Linked DNA regions of Homo sapiens: regions 2, 3, 4 and 5 are each linked to region 1. The links are contacts of gene promoters, found by promoter capture Hi-C in blood cells and fetal thymus (Javierre and others, 2016). All regions are on one chromosome and are shown on one strand. The core of a region is centred on a gene start or on the middle of the fragment in contact, and the rest is flanking DNA. Distances in the headings are between cores, read along the strand shown. Region 1 holds the start of RAB17 (RAB17, member RAS oncogene family). Region 2 has its middle 32 kb from the start of COPS8. Region 3 overlaps COPS8 (COP9 signalosome subunit 8). Region 4 overlaps LOC124906127 (a long non-coding RNA gene). Region 5 has its middle 77 kb from the start of COPS8.

Region 1 (2,700 bases), core at 201-2,700:
ACTCCACCCCCGTAATACAACCACAAATGGTATTTTTGCCTACTTCTAGTTTTTTTCTATGACTCCTAAAAACAAACCAAAACCCATAGTTTTAACATAAAATTATTATCCGATGGGTAAGAAATACTTAATACCAAAGGCAGTCTCACACATTGCTTCAAAATCATGTTTAATGGACATATAACATTTCTACAACTATCTCAACTTGCTGAACCATTTTCCTAATACTGGATTTTTACTTAGTTTTAATTTTTTCTCTGTAATAAGACTGCAGTAAACATTTTCTTATATAACTTTTTGTGTGATTGAGTGTTGTAAGCTTTCAATAATGAGAGGTTGGAGCCTTCTGTCCAAAGAGAAAATTAAAAGTGTGGCACCTGACCCCCACCTCCAGAATTTAATCAAGATGGGGTTATTAGTAGTGAAAGATGTTATTAGGTTGTTGAAGACAAAGATGTTTTCAGGAACACCATATTCAAGACTGGCGCTTCTCTAGTAATCTTAACTTGGGGCTTTTTAATCTCTTGCACCTCCCTTCCACTAAAGGGAAAAAAAACGGAGAGCAAATCCCACATTAGTCTTTTTTGCGGGGAAGGGGCCATTCCAGGGAAGGGTCTGATTGATGAGTCTATCGGCAACTGTGATCCTGTGTCACCCTTGCCTGGGGCCTGTGAAGAATATTGAGATTACGAGAGGTACACCTGTACATTGCATTCAGAATACAGCCATCTGATACAGAAAACACAATGTAGATTGTAAAAAGGAGTTTACAAGAAAACCTGACAAGCTTCCTAGATATCACTGGGTATTAAATTGGGAATGTTGATGTCATTTGAAATGGATTTCTTTAAGAGTTCTTCTCATTACCAGAAGTTTTTTGTGTTTTTTTTTTTCAAGACCTTAAAACCGGAACTTTCCCGAAGAAAAATGCAAATAAGAATCTCCTTCTGGGAATCCGACTTAGTGAGCCATCAGAAATCTGAACTAGGAAGTCTCCGCCCCAGCTTTGTCCTTTGATTATACACACATGGGCACATGCACAGACACAAACAAATACAGACATGGGTACAAACACGTGAGCACACACACAGACACACAGAGACTCACACACAGAGAAGCAGAGACACACACACACACAGGCAGACACTCCACAAAGGGCACAGAGGTTTAAACAATGACTCACCTGTTCCCCAGGCCCGGTCACTTGCAGGGAGCTGAAGAGCCTGTCATCACCAGTCCACAGCGTTGCTACCTGTCTCCGCTTTCTCCTCTCTCTGGTCCAGGGGAAGGTTTGCTTCCCTCCACAGGCAGGACAGGACAGGAGGAGCCTCTACTCCAATGGAAAACAGCCGCAGAGCAGAGGTCAAGAGCAGCAGCCTCGGACCAGAGCAATGCCCACTGGACCCCAGCGCCAAGGTCAGGCCTCTTCTCCTCCCAGAAGGTTTCAGGGCAAAGTCCACAGTGGTCATGTGGTCACCTGAGGCAGGGCAGGAGGCTGGACCTCAAAGCAGGTGACCCGGGAGCACCTGCGCGCTGCCGGAAGTCAAGTCACATTCCAGTCCTGCATTTCCTGGCACCCAACTGGAGCCCGTTTTTCAGCTTTATTCCGGGGTTTCACTTCCAGGATCTCACTTTGGCACAGAATGTTTTTCTTGGCTCCTTCCTTGGAGCTGTATGGAATCTTTGTTGCACTTGAAAAACCAACAGCCCAGAAGAGAAAAGAATATTCCGGTCAGATGAATTAATTCCTCCCACTGTCAGCTAGAAGCCATCCCTGGCTGAGCCCTGCACTGGCCAGAGGCAACTGAGTGTGAGCCAGTCCAGGGTCAGATCCTGGGCTGATGCCACCTGAGGGCGGGGTGGGGGCGTGGCCTCCGTGCACATGGGAGACTCCAGGTGCAGGAGAGGGGGAGGTGGACTTCCTCTTGGTCTTCCCAAGCCATGAAACTTCCTGGCTTGGTGGTAACAGAAGAGTCTCCTCCAGGTAAGATTTCCAGAGCCTCTGAGTATGGCTGGGGTAGCAGGGTTGGGCCTGAGGCTGAGGAGATGGAAATCTGTTGCCGTGAACATTACTCCACACAGCCAGTATACGGGAAGCCAGCTCACTTTATGTCCTCCAAACTCACCCTAACTTCTCGTTTGGGTCTCATCCCGCGGGGCTGCTGGGAAATAAGCTCCGCCACCACAGTGGTTCCTCCGCCCTGTGGGAGTGGGGGGCTCTTATGCTGGAGGGGGGACACTGGCCTGGACTTCTGCTGAGGCTCTGCCCCTCATCCCTGCAGGACGGACTAGCCAGTCCTAACACAGGACTAGCGTTGCTCTACCACGTCCAAGCCTCCTCTGAGATTCTTCCTCCATGCAACCACTTCCCCTGGGGCGTGGCCACCTCCCTGGAAGCCGCCAGCATGCTCGGCTGGGCCCCCGCACTCTGGAGGCTTGAGAATCTCTCTATTTTTGAATGACGTCCTTATCCTCTGCCCCCAGGCTGGTAACCAAAGGTCTGGGGGTGGTGACGTGCTGGGAATGGTGTAACTCGTGAGATGGAGGCTGAATGTGGAAATACATGAATGTGCTTCTCTTCTCTCCAGTTCCCTTGAAGAATCCACCTTCCTGCAGGGTTGGGGGAGCGCAGAATGGGAGGAAGATACAAATACCAATTTTATAGCAAGAATGCAAAAAGAGGCCAGCGCGGTGGCTCGA
Region 2 (3,934 bases), core at 738-3,237, 470 kb before region 1:
GGTGCATGACCGTTTCATTGGTTTTAAGTTTTCCTTACACAGAAGTATCTAGCTTAATAGAATGGTGGAATGGCCTATTCAAGGCTCAGCAATTGTACTAGCATGACGGGTTGGCATGCTTTCTTCCAAGAGATGGAATATGCACTAAACTGAGCCACAACCAATATGGAGTTAGGTCCCCAACAGCTAGATGCAGGGGCATGAGAAGAAGCTCAGTTTAATGTCCTCACATAATTCCCAGAAATCCATTTGCAGAATTTTTGCCTTTCATCTCAGGTTATAAGAACATTTCTCACTCTCTACTTTCTGCAAGTTAAACTCAGAGCAACTATCCGTAACTGATAAGGAACCAGATGTTTTACAGCCCTGTAAAATCAAAGTTACACTCCCTGAGAGAGCTCAATGAAGGTCAACTGGGCTTATTAAAGAAATTGTTCAGAAAGATAACAACAATCATTTTGACATTTTCCAAGTTTTGGATAAATAATTTTTAACACATGTCATAGAAGGAATGTTTGCAAAAGGAAAGGCTATTCAGCATGAGAAGAAAAGATGGGTGGGGATGATGATTGTCTTCAGATATTGGACTGACCACCATGTGGAATAATTTTGTTTATTGCTTCAGAAGGCAAAATCAAGAAGGTTAGAAAGACCAGTTTTGACTCAACACAAAGAAGAGCTATTTAACTGCCTAGACCAGCACTGTCTAATAGAGTTAGAAGACACACCTCACATATGTAACTTTAAATTTTCTGGATGCCACAGTAAAAAGGTGAAAAAGAAAAACAGATAAAATTAATTTTAACAACAATCTTATTTAGCCAATCAAAAATATTATTAGTTCAACATGTCATCAATACAAAAATATTAATGAGATATTTTACATTCTTTTCTTTATACTACATCTTTGAAATCCCATGTGTATTTTACATTTGTGGCACAGCCCAATTTGGACTTCCACATTCCAAGTGCTCAGTAGCCACACAACTTGTGCGTATCAGTTGGTGATGGTCTAGATGGTCTCAGATAGTGTGAGGATCCCATCAGTCAGATACCGTTGAAGCCAAGTTCAATAACCACTGATCAAGGCTGTTTTGAAGGAATGTTCAGGCACTGGTTATGTTAGGACAGTTACCAGGACTCCCCTCCCCTTAACCTGTCTCCACCTTTTATAGCAAAAGCAGGAAGAACAGAATTCCACCTGATAGCATCCATCCCCACTGCCCCCATCCATCCAAATGATAGCAGCAAGGGCAAATACACCTCCTGGAGAGATTAGCAGTTTTCCAGGAGTCTTCTAGCTTTTAGTGTGTCTGGGGGATTTTTACAACCCACAATTAAACTCTGCATTGAAAAGCAGGGGGAAGAAAGGCATCTATTGCCTCTTAGCTGAGCAGCCCATGAACTGGAGTAAGTACCTCCTTGTTAACAAATGCCATGCCTGGATTTCCTCTCACCTGAGAACCCTTGCTATCACTGCAGTTGGAGAAAGGTAAGGGTTTGCCGTTTTGCTAGAGTCAATAACTTTTGAGTAATCTGCATCATATTTGTGGTTGAGCAAAGTAGTAACTTTCCTCTGAATTTGTTGCTTCTCTAAGTAAAGGAAGCTTTCAAAATTAGTGGAAAAGATTGTGTAGTTTTATCCAAATATCTAAAGACAAGCTAAAACCAGGGTGGACATTTTATTCATGTAAATGATTGATGACATTCTCCTGGGTCAATTGAGATAGTGGGAAGCCAGGAGTCTTTGGACATCTTTTTAAGAAATGAGTGGACTTGAATGAGCATGTTGTGTGCACCCACCTGACCAGCATATGTGCATCCTGAATGTGAATCATGATTTTTTCTCCTGGGTGGAGCTGCAGGAAAAGATTTCATTCTAAATGAAAGAGGAACTGGACCATTTTTAACTTGTGAGTCACATGATGGGAGGAATTGCCAAAAACAGTTTTGATTGAATAATGTTCTCCTAATTGTGCACCTGCACCTGATCTCTAAGAAGAGCAATTCAGGACAAAGGGCAAAATGCCCAGTGCATAATAATGCATAAGGTAATAAGAACCTCTTCATGGCTATCCTGTGTCGGTTAAATAACATGGTTTGAAAACTGAATTAGGTTGTTTGTGAGGTTGGGCAGTGAATGAGGTCAATCGAGTAAGGTCCAAAAAATTCCAAATCCATTTGGGAGCCTTAAGCCTGTTGGATGTCTCCCCTTATAACCCTGATTTTTAGCAGACTGGTGAACAAGATTTTCAATGTATTTCTGTCATAAAATACAAAGAATGTAAATGGAAATATGGGAGTGTGGCCTCAACTGCCTTAACTTTGCCTGAGGCAATTTAATATGGACCAACTTCAAAAGATTAGGAAGCTTTAGTTTTCAACATTATCTTACATTGTCAACATTATCTTGGCTAAATGTTTTGATGCTGCGTCTGGTGTCTTTCATGTGACTGGAGCTGTGGATGTAGATGCAGGAATCTGTGCAGGGCAGCTTTTCTGTATTTCCACCCATCCCTTCCTCAAGATAGCAGAAGGGCTCTGACAAGGAAAACCAAACACATGGGGTTGATGCTGTGTTTGAAAACCCTCTTGAGTTGAGATGTGTAAAGCATGTGCTTAGCCAGAGCCAAACATCTGCTTGATTCTCACTCCTCGCTGTCACCCGGTGTCTTGTTGTTTACAATGTGCTGCCATAACTCACTTGGTGTGTAGGGTCATTCCTACCACTTCATTCCTTGAATGTCCGATCACCATCACTGCTGGCTGAAACGCAGTCCCTTCAAAGGCTTAAATAAGTCTTTTCTAAGGGCCGAAGAAGTGCTCTTGAGTTATTAGATATTTTTGAAAAAAAGGTTTTCTTCATGTTCTTGCTTTTTAAATAGTTTGTTTGGCCCTTGAGTCGTCAGTTCTTTTGTCATATGAGTGGAATGGATAAGTTTACTAAGACTTGGCAAGGAAGAAAATCTATGGGGAATTAGAGGCTGAATTCCTAATAATTAAGAACAATTTTTAACGTTTATTTTAAGTTGAGGGGTACATGTACAGGTTTGTTACATAGGTAGGCTTGTGTCATGTGGGTTTCTTATACAGATTATTTCATCACCCAGGTATTAAGCGCAGTACCCATTAGTTATTTTGTGAGGATGAAGAGAACAAAAATTATTTAAAAGACCCAGCCAAGGCGTTATTTTAGGGGCTTGTCACACACTTGTCACTCACCAGTTTAAATGATCAAATCCACATGTATGCTAAATTTAAGCAAAAATTAAAATATACAAAACCTAACAAAATTATCCTGGACATCGACTAAGAATAAAAGCCGGTCACCTGCAGTGTTGGCATAAGGGAATGGCTAGGGGGTGAGCAGTGCCATGGCCCCTCTGCTTGGAGAAGTGCAGTGGCTTTAGCTGCAAGCTCCAGCCCTGGTCCAGCCTGTTAATATCATCAGAGACCGTTAGGTTGGCCCTGCACATTCAAACCATGTGGCCCTGCCTTTGACTGCCGCATAGAATGTGAGAGCACCCAGCTCTCATCAGAAAATTAACCCCAAACACTCTGTATCCAGGTTTTATGAAAGGTTCAGTTGTGAAAAATATTCTCAAAGTGTGCTTCCTGGACCACAAGTTGGGCATCGCCTGGAAGCCCCAGTCCAGACACACTGAATCAAATCTGCATTTAACAAGACCCCAGTGATTCTTGAGCACCCTGATGCTTGGGGCAGCAGCTCTGAGGATTTACAGTCTCTCCATTTCAGCCCTCACTGTGCACTTGCTTGGGGCCTGTGCCTCTGGGGCGACAGTATGAGAAGGAGGCAGAGAAAACGACTCGTGTATTCTACTGAAATATGGAAAGGGCTGTGCCCTGTATCACCAAGTAATGTTTTAAGTGAGAAATTGCTCTCTGATATGGGTGTCAAGAGAGGGCCTTGTGG
Region 3 (3,713 bases), core at 1,124-3,623, 490 kb before region 1:
TGTATACACCTGGCCAGGTGCAGTGGCTCACACCTGTAATCCCAGCACTTTGGGAGGCCGAGGCGGGTGGATCATGATGAGGTCAGGAGTTCGAGACCAGCCTGGCCAACATGGTGAAAGCCCGTCTCTACTAAAAATACAAAAAATTAGCCAGGTGTGGTGGCAGGCACCTGTAATCCCAACTACTCAGGAGGCTGAGGCAGGAGAATCGCATGAATCCAGGAGGTGGAGGTTGCAGTGAGCTGAGACTGTGCCACTGCACTCTAGCCTGGGCAACACAGTGAGATTCCATATCAAAAATATATATATATATCGTATACACCTTGTTGCATTGTTTTGCCATGATTGACATTTTTGATTCTCCAGCTAAAATATGAGCACCATCACGCACTACATCCTAAATTTCCAGGGCCTAGCATAGTTGTAGATACATGAAGATAGGTTAATGAAAGTTCTAAGTTATTACTTTTATTTACTCATACAAACATTTATTTCTTTTGGCTCTTAAAATTGGTCCATCATTTATTTTCTATATATAACATACTTCAGAGCTCGTATTCTCAGCTGACCACCTGGATGTGAATGCTGGTACCACCCGTCCCTGATGCTAGTGGCTATGTGACTTAGGACAAATCACTTGAATTTCCCTCAACTTTATTTTCCATACCTGTCAAACGATGGCCCTATATCCCACTTCATAGAGTTGTGGTGATTACATAAAATCATCCCTATAAAAGCACGTAGTCTGGTACCTACAGGTAAACCTTCCATATATGGAAGCTGTTTTTATTATTGCCATCTTTGTTATTACTGATATGATGGTCACAAAAGGCGCCATATCAGTTTTCCTTCTGTTTGTTTTAAATAATACTGATTAGGTTAATACTATAATATATTCTTGACAGAAAACTAACCATCTTTTAATGATTATAGCAACCTAATAGAGTAAAATGAGGCTTTGATACCTGTTTCAGAAATATTTCAATAATAAGTTTCCATGCTCTTTGTAATATACCTTTCTAGTAAAAATGCATATGACGGGTTATACTAAACACATCAGGTCTTCTGTACAACTAATGTCATGGACAAGTTGTGGATTTTGTGGGGTGTTTTATTCTTTCCGGATCTTTATGTGTAATATACTTTTTTAGGCATATTAGAACAAGGATGGCAAGCTGATTCCACCACAAGAATGGTTCTGCCCAGAAAGCCAGGTAGGTGGAGCTTTCACCCATTTACGCAGCACTGGACTCTTCTAAGACTGCTTCAGGTTTTCAGTCTTTGGTTTTTGATAATTGGATGTAAAATTCGGCTATACTAACACAATGGAAATAACTCATTTTAAATAAAGCGTAGTAGACGGGGTAGAAAGGATCACCTAGTTTAAACTCTTAAAAATGTATTTCCTGTATATAAATGATTTTACGTAGGTTTTTCATGGTCCTTACACCTTAGTTTTTACTAAATATTAATCTCCATCCTTTTATGGAGCCATTTGTAACTGAGCTTATCCTTCATATCCAAGCTGTTGTCTGTATTAAAAAAAAATGTTTAAATATTCAACTGCCCCCCTTTTCTGTTTGCACTCAAGTCATACAGGCACTTTTCCTGTGGCTTCCACTTTCACAGAGTTAACTTCTCTAGCCCTCCTTTTAAGGCCTTAATTTCTATGACCTGCCCTCATTGTCTTTATCTGAATTCCCAGCCCCTCAGTCTTCCTGTTGGAAGTGAGCCACACTCATTCCCGCCTGATAGTTTCTCTTCCTCCTGCTGACCAGGAGTGTCTTTTCTGCCAGGTCTTTAGAGCCAAGCTTAATGCCCACTTCCATAAACCCGCCTTCATCCACGTCAGCCCAAATTTCCTTCCACCTACTCGGAATGCCTATGTTTAGACATTGCTGAACATACAGTAAAGGATTCTCAATGTGCTCAGCCCTTTGAGTTACAAAGAGTGAGAAGACATGATCCCAGTCAAGTGAGATAGTGGGGGAAGAGTAATATAATAAAGAATTATAATGGAGCACAGTTGTTATCCCTGTTTGAGAAATAAATGGCCGTTAAATGCATGTTGTGCTGAAAATAGCATGTTCTATGAAAGATCTTTACAATGACTTCTGTAAATTGAGCTGTACATTTTTTTTTTGAATTTAGTTGCAGGGGCCCTGGATGTTTCCTTTAACAAGTTTATTCCCTTATCAGGTATGTATTTTCATATGCACATTTTTTAATGTCTCATTGTTCCTAATTTCTTTTTTGTAGTATATATGTATATGTGTGTGTGAGTGTGTGTATCTATTTCTTACCTTGTAAACAGAGGTTAAATTTCATAAATGCGTAGTAATACATCTGGTTACAAGAGTGAAACTGGGCTCCCCCAGAGCTTGCCTTGAGGCGGTGCCCTCCTCTGGGCCAGCTGCAGAGCCTTCTTATTCTCATGTCAGGGAGGCCTGCCAGAGCTGTTCACCAGTACTGTTATTCAGAAGGCGTCCCCAGGCTGACGTGTAGTAATTTAAATGTTGGAATGTAAATTCCTTGAGGTTCTTTGTGGGTTTTCTTTTTTTTTTTTTTTTTTTTGGTTTGTTGACAATTTAATATTCTTCAGTGATGTCTGGGGCATGGGAAGCACTCTATTTCTTGAATTTAATGTTGCATGGGTAAGGATGTTTTCAAGAAGAGCTGTGATCTTTTAAAAGACATGTTGCATGATAAAAGTGTCTTTAACCTTTACATAGAATACTTCAGTAACAACAACATGAGACATGCCTTTACTAGCAGTTAGGTAAAACCATACTCATAAAAGTTGCAACTTCTTGGCTTGCTTTTCAAAAATGTCCAAGCCTCTATGATGTAAGATTTTGTCTAAAACCAGGACAAATCTAAGAAAGTTAACTTACTGTTAAAAATTGAAGGCATTAGGGGAGGTAGGTGTTGGGGCCAAAGCTTTGTTACTGTGGTATGTAACATGAAGTGTGTTTGTTTCTTTAACATACAGAGCCTGCTCCAGTTCCCCCAATACCCAATGAACAGCAGTTAGCCAGACTGACGGATTATGTGGCTTTCCTTGAAAACTGATTTATCACTCTGAGTTCAAGATTCATCTTCAGAATCCTGTATACTGACAAACGTAGAAATGTAAAGTTTGTATTTTCAATTTATTGGATGGCTTAAGCACCTCAGCATTCCTTACTATGTGATAAAATACATATAGAATATAAGATATACTATATACATTTTGTCCATAAACGTTATGCTGAATAGTTGTTGAAACAGTTCTCATTTTGTAGTATTTAATAATCTGGATGGAGCCTGTCAGTATTACAGTTAGTTTTCTAGTGACTCATAAAATAAGATTTCCTGTTTCATGTAGAATAGTGTTTGTCAACTGTCTTTTCTCTGTCCCAGCACATGCCGTACTCTTATATGTACCATTGGTTGATAATTATAATGATTCATTTGGACTTGAAGAAAGATTGTCCCCAGGCACAGTATCTGAATCACTGGGGATTATGATTCACCCTCTTTGGAGAACATGCTCTCTTTTCACCCCCCACCTCCTGAGAGCCACTAATGTAAGATACAGAAACATAGCTGAGGAACAAATAGACCATTTCCATACTAAACCAGTTTGTTAACTTTAGATTTTTTCCAATAGTGTGAGTATATCCATTGCTGGCAGTGGAGGGCTTGCCATGAAAATGCAACTTATTTAAGAC
Region 4 (3,832 bases), core at 21-2,520, 450 kb before region 1:
GTGGAGGCCCCAAAGAGCCTCAAGCTTGGAATGCTAGGCTCCTAAGGGCATGGGGCTGTGGAACAATTTTGGAAAGGGTGGTGGGGTTTAGCACATGGGTGGGTGGAAGCCGTGGGTGCTCTGAGTGGCTCAGCTTACATCAGCTAAAGCACAAATCACCAATGGGGGACCCTGAGAGCTGTGTTCTGTTTCCTAATGCATGATGCTCCCTATAGGATCTGTCTTCTTCTTCCCACAGTCTACCTTCTTAATTCAGACACAGACAACACCCTCAAAGGCACAGCAACATTGAGGTGGACTGGCAGTGGGGCAGTTAGTTGACAGGGCAAGGGCAAAGGTGGCAAGTTATCCAGAAGCTCATAGGATAATCCCCCTTAGTTGGTGACATGCCATCCTTCACCTGTATGTATCCTGAGCTGGGACAGATTGTGGTAAGAAGTCTGAGGAATGGGAAAGGATATCTTTAGATCCTGAAGATCATCTTAGATATGACTCAGAGATAGCAATGCATCCGTTCTTGTGCCAGGCCAGCCACTTACCAGCTGTGTGACTTCTGGACCTCAGTTTCCTCATCTGTTAAAATAGGTCTAATCTCAGCACCTACTGCATAAGATTTTTGTGAGGATTACATGTGATGTGTGTAAGGCACCGTAGCTTAGTGATTTCAGGATTACTACTTCAAACTAGTTCCCCTAGATTCAGTGCTAGGCACTGAGAACCCAGGCAGAGGTAGATGTTTAAATAGTATTTGTTAAATTTGTTATTATCATTCATTTCAGTTATCTGATGCTACAAAACAAATCCTAGTGACTTACCCCAAAACATAGGGGCTTAGAACAACAAAATATAACTATTACCACAAATGGTTTCTTGTGGATCAGGAATCCCAGGCACCTTGGCTGGGTGGCTCTGGCCTGAGCTTTCTGAGGAAGGTTCAGTGAAATGTCAGCCAGGATTGCAGTCATCGAAGGCTAGAGTGGGGCTGGAGGAGTCACCTTCAAGGTGGCTCATTTGTGTAGTTAGCTAATTGGTGCTGCCTGTTGGCAAAGGCCTTGTTCCTCCGTGTGGGTCTCTCCATGTGGCTTGGGCTTCCTCACATAATAGTGTCTTGGTTCCAAAGGTGAGCATCCTGACACCCAGAGAGAGAAAGAGAGAGAGAGAACCAGCAGGAACATCAAGCTTCTGCCATACTCCATTGGTCAGGCAATCACAGTCCCTGCCCAGATTTGAGTGGGGGAAACTAGACCCCACATCCCATTGGGAGGGATGAAATGGGATAAATACATGTGAGTACAAATATGTGTCCTTGGAACATAAAATCTGACACATTATTGTTCTTCTTATTATTAGAATTTGAGAGAGAAGCTTCATACCCACCTTTTGTAAAAGTTACTGGCAGTCAGAAACTGGTCTTGTCTGTCCCATGTGTGAACAGAGGTGGACCTTTCTTGCCAAGCTCCTGGATTGATAAACAACGTCTGGAAATTTTTTTTTAATGAAAATCTTGGCTGGGTTAGTGATGGAGCATGAGAAACAGAACACAAAGAACTATTCAATGATTCATCAAATTTATATCATATTGCAAAATTCTTGCACTTAAAAAAACTGGCTGTGAAAATCAGTGTCATAGGTACCCATGATATGTGGTTTTAAAGAAGAACAGAGGTGGAAGCACAGACTTTAGAGTGTCTGGAGGGAATCTCCCTCACTTGGCTTTATGGTCTCCAGTCTACTCCATCCTCTGACCCTGTTCAACCCCTTACTCTCAATGTATGACCTTGCATCCTTCTCAGAGAAAATAGGAACCGTCACATGGAGCACTCTCACCTTTGCACCACCAAATCGGCACTCCCCCTTGTGTCTTTTTTAAAATCTCCTCTTCCTTTTCCCCATTACAATGAAAGAGTGGTCCCTCTTCTGACTGCAGCTAGCTCCTCTTTGCCTGCTCTGGATCCCATCCCACTTCTTCATTCCAAGGACCACTAACATGTCGACCCCCACCGCTGTCTGTCTTTGACATTTTGCTTGTATTTTCCCCTTTTCAACAGTTCATGCCATTCCCATATTTAAAAGCACCTAAGAAATCCCCATCAACAACACCAATCAAAACTACCACCAACACCAGTACAAATAATCCTCTACACAGGCTGTACCCCCCACCACTCCCATCTGATTCCCTGCAGGTACTGTCCTGTCTTCCTGCTCCCTTCACAGATAAACTTGCCCTAAACAATTGTCTTCACTTACAGTCCCCACGTTCTCATATCTCACTCCTTCCTCAGTTCACTTCAATCTAGTATTTGCCTACATAACTTCACTGGAATTGCTCCCACTGTTGTCCTCAGTCAATCCAGTGGACACCTGTGGTCCTTCCCATCATGCTGGGTCTCTCTGTGGCAGTCTCCACTACTGACTACACTCTTGTGTGTAGAAACCATCTCTTATCTAGGCTTCTGGAACTAAACACTCTTGGTTTGCCTTTTAGACAGACTCCTCCCTCCTCTGCTTAACCGTTAAGCTTTGCAGTTTCTCAGGCACCCTCTTAACGGAATCTTCTCCTCTCACTTCCAATAGTCTGAGGAGAGATGGATTGAAAAAAAAAATGCATCCAAGCAGTTCAGACCCCAACAGTATTCCTCTCTTTGGGGCATCTCCTCCTATGGACATTCTCCTCCTCTACTCACCCTTCACCAGCTCTTCCTGAGTTGGCTGAATGGGAGCACTTGAGGGGGATAGTAGGAGTACATATTAGGGATCCCTATTGTGGGCACAGATTGAGTCAGCCTTTCCAGTTTTATCAATAATAAAACATATTTTTTTATTTCCATCTGACACCTGTGCCTTATCTCTTAAATTTTAAAGGAGAAGAACGAGTTATTGTTTATGGTTGTATTCAAATTCCAACATACATAATTACTGTCCGGTTGCCCTACCAGGCAGTCAACTCCATGAGGTCAGAGACTACCTCCGTATTGTCCACTCTGATTCCTCAGCACCCAGCATAGCCCCCAACACATTTAAGACAGTAACACTTGTATAGAATATTTCAATTTTCAAAACACATTTGCATAAATATTGCATGTAATTTTTACCATAATAGTATTCTGCACTCCCATCTTCCCCAGACCCACTTTTAAAGTTAGGGATTAAAGTCTGAGAGAGATTAAACAATGGAGATTGAGAGCCATTGAACTAATAAATTTTCCAGGATGTAAAGAGAAGTTTTTCTAATATTAATAACAATTTTTCTAAGTCCTGGTGTTTCAATAATTGTTATACAACTTGGGTATGCAACTGAATCTATATGAAATGTTTTAAAATAAATCTACAATTAAGAGATTTGCCAGTGTGCTCAGTAATTTTCAGATTTGTCAGCTTCTTCATTTCCAGAATGGCAGAATGAGGAGATTGTCAAATCCTCTCCCCAAAAAGTAATAATAAAACTGGACAAAATTATCAAAAACAACCATCTCAGGACTGAAAATTGACCAAAGCCATACAACAAATTGAGAAGCATTTACTCAAGATAAACTACTGAACCTCAGGTAAGAAAAATAGTGTGTGGTATTTTTAAGCCTGGGGCTACTTCATTTTCCCATCCCCCAGCTTAGTCAATGCAGTAATTCTACCAGGGAAAGCATACCTTAAAAACCAGCACCTCACCTGCTAGAGGTGGCTTATTTGGTTAAAAGCTGTGCACAGAAAGACCCCATGCTCAGATGTGTTGCTGAAAATAAGTAGAAATCTCAGTGGCAAATGAACAAGAAAGGAAATGTCATGGCTAGCTCAAAGTTTAGATACTGCTTGGAGCAACCAAGACTGGCAGACTAGC
Region 5 (3,698 bases), core at 954-3,453, 430 kb before region 1:
GGCTGGCGGGAGGCCCCTGGTCAAGCCTTGGTGGGGCCTAGATCCAAGGTCCTGACCGGTGCCACCACGGGCCAAGGCCAGCAGTGAGGCCCAGAGGCTAAGCCAATAGCTGTGATGCGGAGGGGGCTGTGGTGTGGGGAGCCTAGGGGTGTAGAGGAGAACTTCAGGCTCATAAAGAGAAATGTGAGGTGCAGTTCTCATACACGCTGTGGGGCAGTTCCCACAGAGAAAGAAAAATGCTCCAAAAGATTTAAAACGTTTTCCTTTGATTATTTTGAATTATGGATGATCGTTAGTTCCTTCATTTTATATTCTCTTCTATCAGACTGTTTTGTAAACAACCAAAATGAGGACTAAGTTAGAGTCATTTGTTGAGTGAAGAGAGAGGTTTGGAGGAAAGGATATGGGCTCCTGAGGGAGGTTCCCGATGGAGACTAATCACAAACACCTTTGTACCACTTTCCCACACCCCTGTGGTGGCCCATCCCTAGGTTCTGTGAAAACTGGAAGAAGACATGCCACATGACAGCTGATTTTAATTGAGAACTGGCCCATATAGTTTAGTACAGAAACTTGGAACAAATAAACGATGAATATCCAGCCAACATCACATGAGAAGTCATCAGGAGGAATCGGGAAACGGCAGATCCAGCTTTGACCCAGCAACTTCACCGCAGGGTCCAAATGCTGCACACTGTTTCCTTCTGGAGCCTCCTCAGTGTGTCCAAATGATGAAAGACCTCCCCCAAGAGGCTAGGATCTGGAGGAGAGGCGTGATGTGTCCAGAGGGATGACAGCATCTGGCAGGGCAGGAGCAGGAAAGAAGCAAAGTTAGATTGAAAAGCCAAAAACGTCTTCTCCCTCTGTAATGGGAGCTTTAGGAAGGAAGGTGGGCAGGACACCCAGGAGTCCCTTACTAATGAACAATGGGAGCTGGGATGGGAGCCTGGTGATGCCTGGACCTTCTGTGGCTCTGCGACGTGGACAGCAGCTGCCAGAGGAGGGAGGCCAGGCTCCATGACAGCCCTCAGCTTAGGTGTGCGATTTAAGAGGTTTTCCCAAAGAATCTCCTGTCTTTCAAAGATCTGCTTCACGGGTGGTGCTAGGGTCTGAAACCCCCACTCTAGACATTCCTTTGAATGAGGTTACTGGAGAGCCCTTCTGCCTGTGACCATGCTACCTGGAAGGTCATCTGTCCTCATCTGGAGAAGGGTGGTTGTCCCAAAATGGAACAAGTTAGTACCTGCCCCCAACAGGGCATGATATTTTTTTTAAAAGCTTTGTTTTGAGAACCTAGGCTGGTAGTTGTGGGGCTTCAGGGAGGGACAGGGCATGTCAGGGAAGGAGTAAAAACAGGAGCAGTGGTAGATCCAGGGCATCCTATTCAACAATTTCAGTGGCGGGTACACTAAGGCCACATACAGTATTTGTGGGTCTGATGATATTTGAGAACTAGTTGAAAACCTTTGCAAAACTAGTTTTGTTTGATTATTCTGTTTTTTTTAGTGCCCCGTCTTAAAATTTGGCCATCTGGAAAGATGAGAAGTAGTATCTCAGCTTGTTTTAATTAACAACTTGTGAGGCTGCATATCTTTTCAAAAGATTGTTAGCCATGTTGGTATATTCTGCTATCAACTGACTACTGATGCTTTTTGTCTGTTTTTCTATTAGAGTGTTTATCTTTCAGTATATCTATTTCTATCTATCTATCCACCCATCCATCTATACCTATTTTGAAGGATTTCTTTTTTTTCTTTTTTTTTTTTTTTTTTTGACGGAGTCTCCCTCTGTTGCCCAGGCTGGAGTGTAATGGTGTGATCTCGGCTCACTGCAAGCTCTGCCTCCCAGGTTCATGCCATTCTCCTGCATCAGCCTCCCGAGTAGCTGGGACTACAGGTGCCCGCCACCACGCCTGGCTGATTTTTTGTATTTTTAGTAGAGATGGGGTTTCACTGTGTTAGCCAGGATGGTCTCAATCTCCTGACCTCGTGATCTGCCCACCTCGGCCTCCCAAAGTGCTGGGATTACAGGTGTGAGCCACTGCACCTGGCCTGAAGGATTTCTTTATAGAATCCAAACACTAATCTTTGATTAGATCATAAATGTTTTATGTAGCTTCCCTTAAACAGTGACTTAACTTTGGCATTTCCTTGTTGTGAAGAAGTTTTCAATTTCTAGTTAGTCAGATTTATCTTTCTTTTTCTCCATGTGTGTTTTCTTTAAGAAGTGTTCTTTTGCTCTAAAGTTACAATATTTTCTTTTAGTCTCTTCTAAAAGTTTTCAAGTTATACGATTTACATTTAAGTCTTTGATCTAGTTGTCCTTGCTCTATTTTCTAAACTTTCTGTTCCTCTCTCACTGATCTTCAAATACCATCGTGGTCATATCTAAGTTCCTGTGTGTGTGTGGGTATCTTTCTTGGCTCTTGGTTCTGCTCCATCAGCAATATTTATATTTACTGGAGTCAGAAACTCACTGTTTGAAATGTTAGAGCTTTATACTAGGTCTCAATATTTGGGTGAGTCCTTTCTTCGCATTCTTTTCTAAATAGTTTGGCCATTTGGGGCTATTTACTTTTTTTTTTGGTGGGGGGAGACGGAATTTCGCTCTCGTTGCCCAGGCTGGAGTGCAATGGCATGACATCGGCTCACTGCAACCTCTGCCTCCCAGGTTCAAGTGGTTCTCCTGCCTCAGTCTCCCAAGTAGCTAGGATTACAGGTACCTGCCACTATGCCCAGGTAATTTTTTATATTTTTAGTAGAGACAGGTTTCACCATGTTGGCCAGGCTGGTCTTGAACTCCTGACCTCAGGTGATCCACCTGCCTTGGCCTCCCAAAGTGCTGGGATTACAGGCGTGAGCCACCATGCCCGGCCTATTTACTTTTTCATGCAAACTTTAGAATCAACTTGTCACATTTATTAAAAACCCTGTTAAGAGTTGTATTGCCCTAGTATTAAATTTACACACTAATCTGGGAGATAATTTGAATCTTCCTATCCGTGAATATAGTTTTTCTCCTTCTCTGGTTTTCTCTCCCTCTCACCATTTATTTAAGGCATGTTTGATATCCTCCAATGCAATTTTATTATTTTCTTGCCAAACATCTTTTATTTTTACTTATTCCTTGAAGCTTTTGAACTTTATGTTACCGTGAGTGCAATCAGTATTTAACTTTGTTACATTCTGTGATTTGTCTTTTCTGGTGTGCAGGAATGTTGTTGCTTTTTGAATATTGATCTGCTATCCCAGAGCTTGCTGAATTCATCTTTTAAGAATAATAGTACATAGAATCTTTTGATTTCATATGTCAGTGATTATTTCTTCTGCCAATAATGACAATTTGGTTTCTTCTTTTTCAATTTCTTTACCTCTTATTTAATTTTTCTTTTGCTATTTCAATGTCTGGAACTTCCAGTAAAATGATAAATAGAAACTGAGACAGTAGGTTAATGTTTTTTTTGTCTCTGACATTTAAGGGAATTAAAGAGAGTATTTCCATAGCCTCACCATTTAATGTGGGGTTTCTTGTGATCTCCTAAAGCCTTGACCAGGTTAAGGAAATTTTCTTGTATTCCTGGTGATAAGTTTTACTAAATGTATTTTCTATATATATTGAGTTGATCATATGATCCTCTCGTTTCATCTGATAATGTAGTGAATGATATTAATAATTTTGTAATGTTTCACTACCCTTGT

What was found. The method cuts DNA at HindIII sites, captures the fragments that hold promoters and counts their contacts. A CHiCAGO score of 5 or more calls a contact.
Region 2: a fragment that was not itself captured here is called in contact with the fragment with the promoter of RAB17 in region 1 in 1 of 17 cell types (megakaryocytes); the score reaches 5.0 in megakaryocytes.
Region 3: a contact is called between a fragment that was not itself captured here and the fragment with the promoter of RAB17 in region 1, in 1 of 17 cell types (megakaryocytes). The highest score is 5.1, in megakaryocytes.
Region 4: a fragment that was not itself captured here is called in contact with the fragment with the promoter of RAB17 in region 1 in 1 of 17 cell types (fetal thymus); the score reaches 5.3 in fetal thymus.
Region 5: a contact is called between a fragment that was not itself captured here and the fragment with the promoter of RAB17 in region 1, in 2 of 17 cell types (fetal thymus and M1 macrophages). The highest score is 5.1, in fetal thymus.

What each region holds. Positions count from the first base shown.
Region 1 is chr2:237,589,284-237,591,983 of GRCh38, forward strand. RAB17 (RAB17, member RAS oncogene family) reads right to left here and starts at 1,451. Exons shown (of 6, transcript NM_022449.4): 1 at 1,184-1,451. RAB17-DT (RAB17 divergent transcript) reads left to right here and starts at 1,877. Exons shown (of 3, transcript NR_187201.1): 1 at 1,877-1,984; 2 at 2,589-2,700. The HindIII fragment of the contact is 11,150 bases long and covers 786-2,700 here.
Region 2 is chr2:237,116,340-237,120,273 of GRCh38, forward strand. No RefSeq gene overlaps it. Among named protein-coding and RNA genes, the nearest start is that of COPS8, 32 kb to the left of the region's middle. The HindIII fragment of the contact is 764 bases long and covers 1,606-2,369 here.
Region 3 is chr2:237,094,671-237,098,383 of GRCh38, forward strand. COPS8 (COP9 signalosome subunit 8) reads left to right here. Exons shown (of 8, transcript NM_006710.5): 6 at 1,152-1,214; 7 at 2,152-2,199; 8 at 2,993-3,713. The coding sequence ends at 3,072. Among named protein-coding and RNA genes, the nearest start is that of COPS8, 11 kb to the left of the region's middle. The HindIII fragment of the contact is 1,129 bases long and covers 1,810-2,938 here.
Region 4 is chr2:237,142,343-237,146,174 of GRCh38, forward strand. It overlaps LOC124906127 (a long non-coding RNA gene), which reads right to left. Exons shown (of 2, transcript XR_007088143.1): 1 at 1,378-3,832; 2 at 1-1,129. Among named protein-coding and RNA genes, the nearest start is that of COPS8, 58 kb to the left of the region's middle. The HindIII fragment of the contact is 186 bases long and covers 1,178-1,363 here.
Region 5 is chr2:237,160,752-237,164,449 of GRCh38, forward strand. No RefSeq gene overlaps it. Among named protein-coding and RNA genes, the nearest start is that of COPS8, 77 kb to the left of the region's middle. The HindIII fragment of the contact is 1,854 bases long and covers 1,277-3,130 here.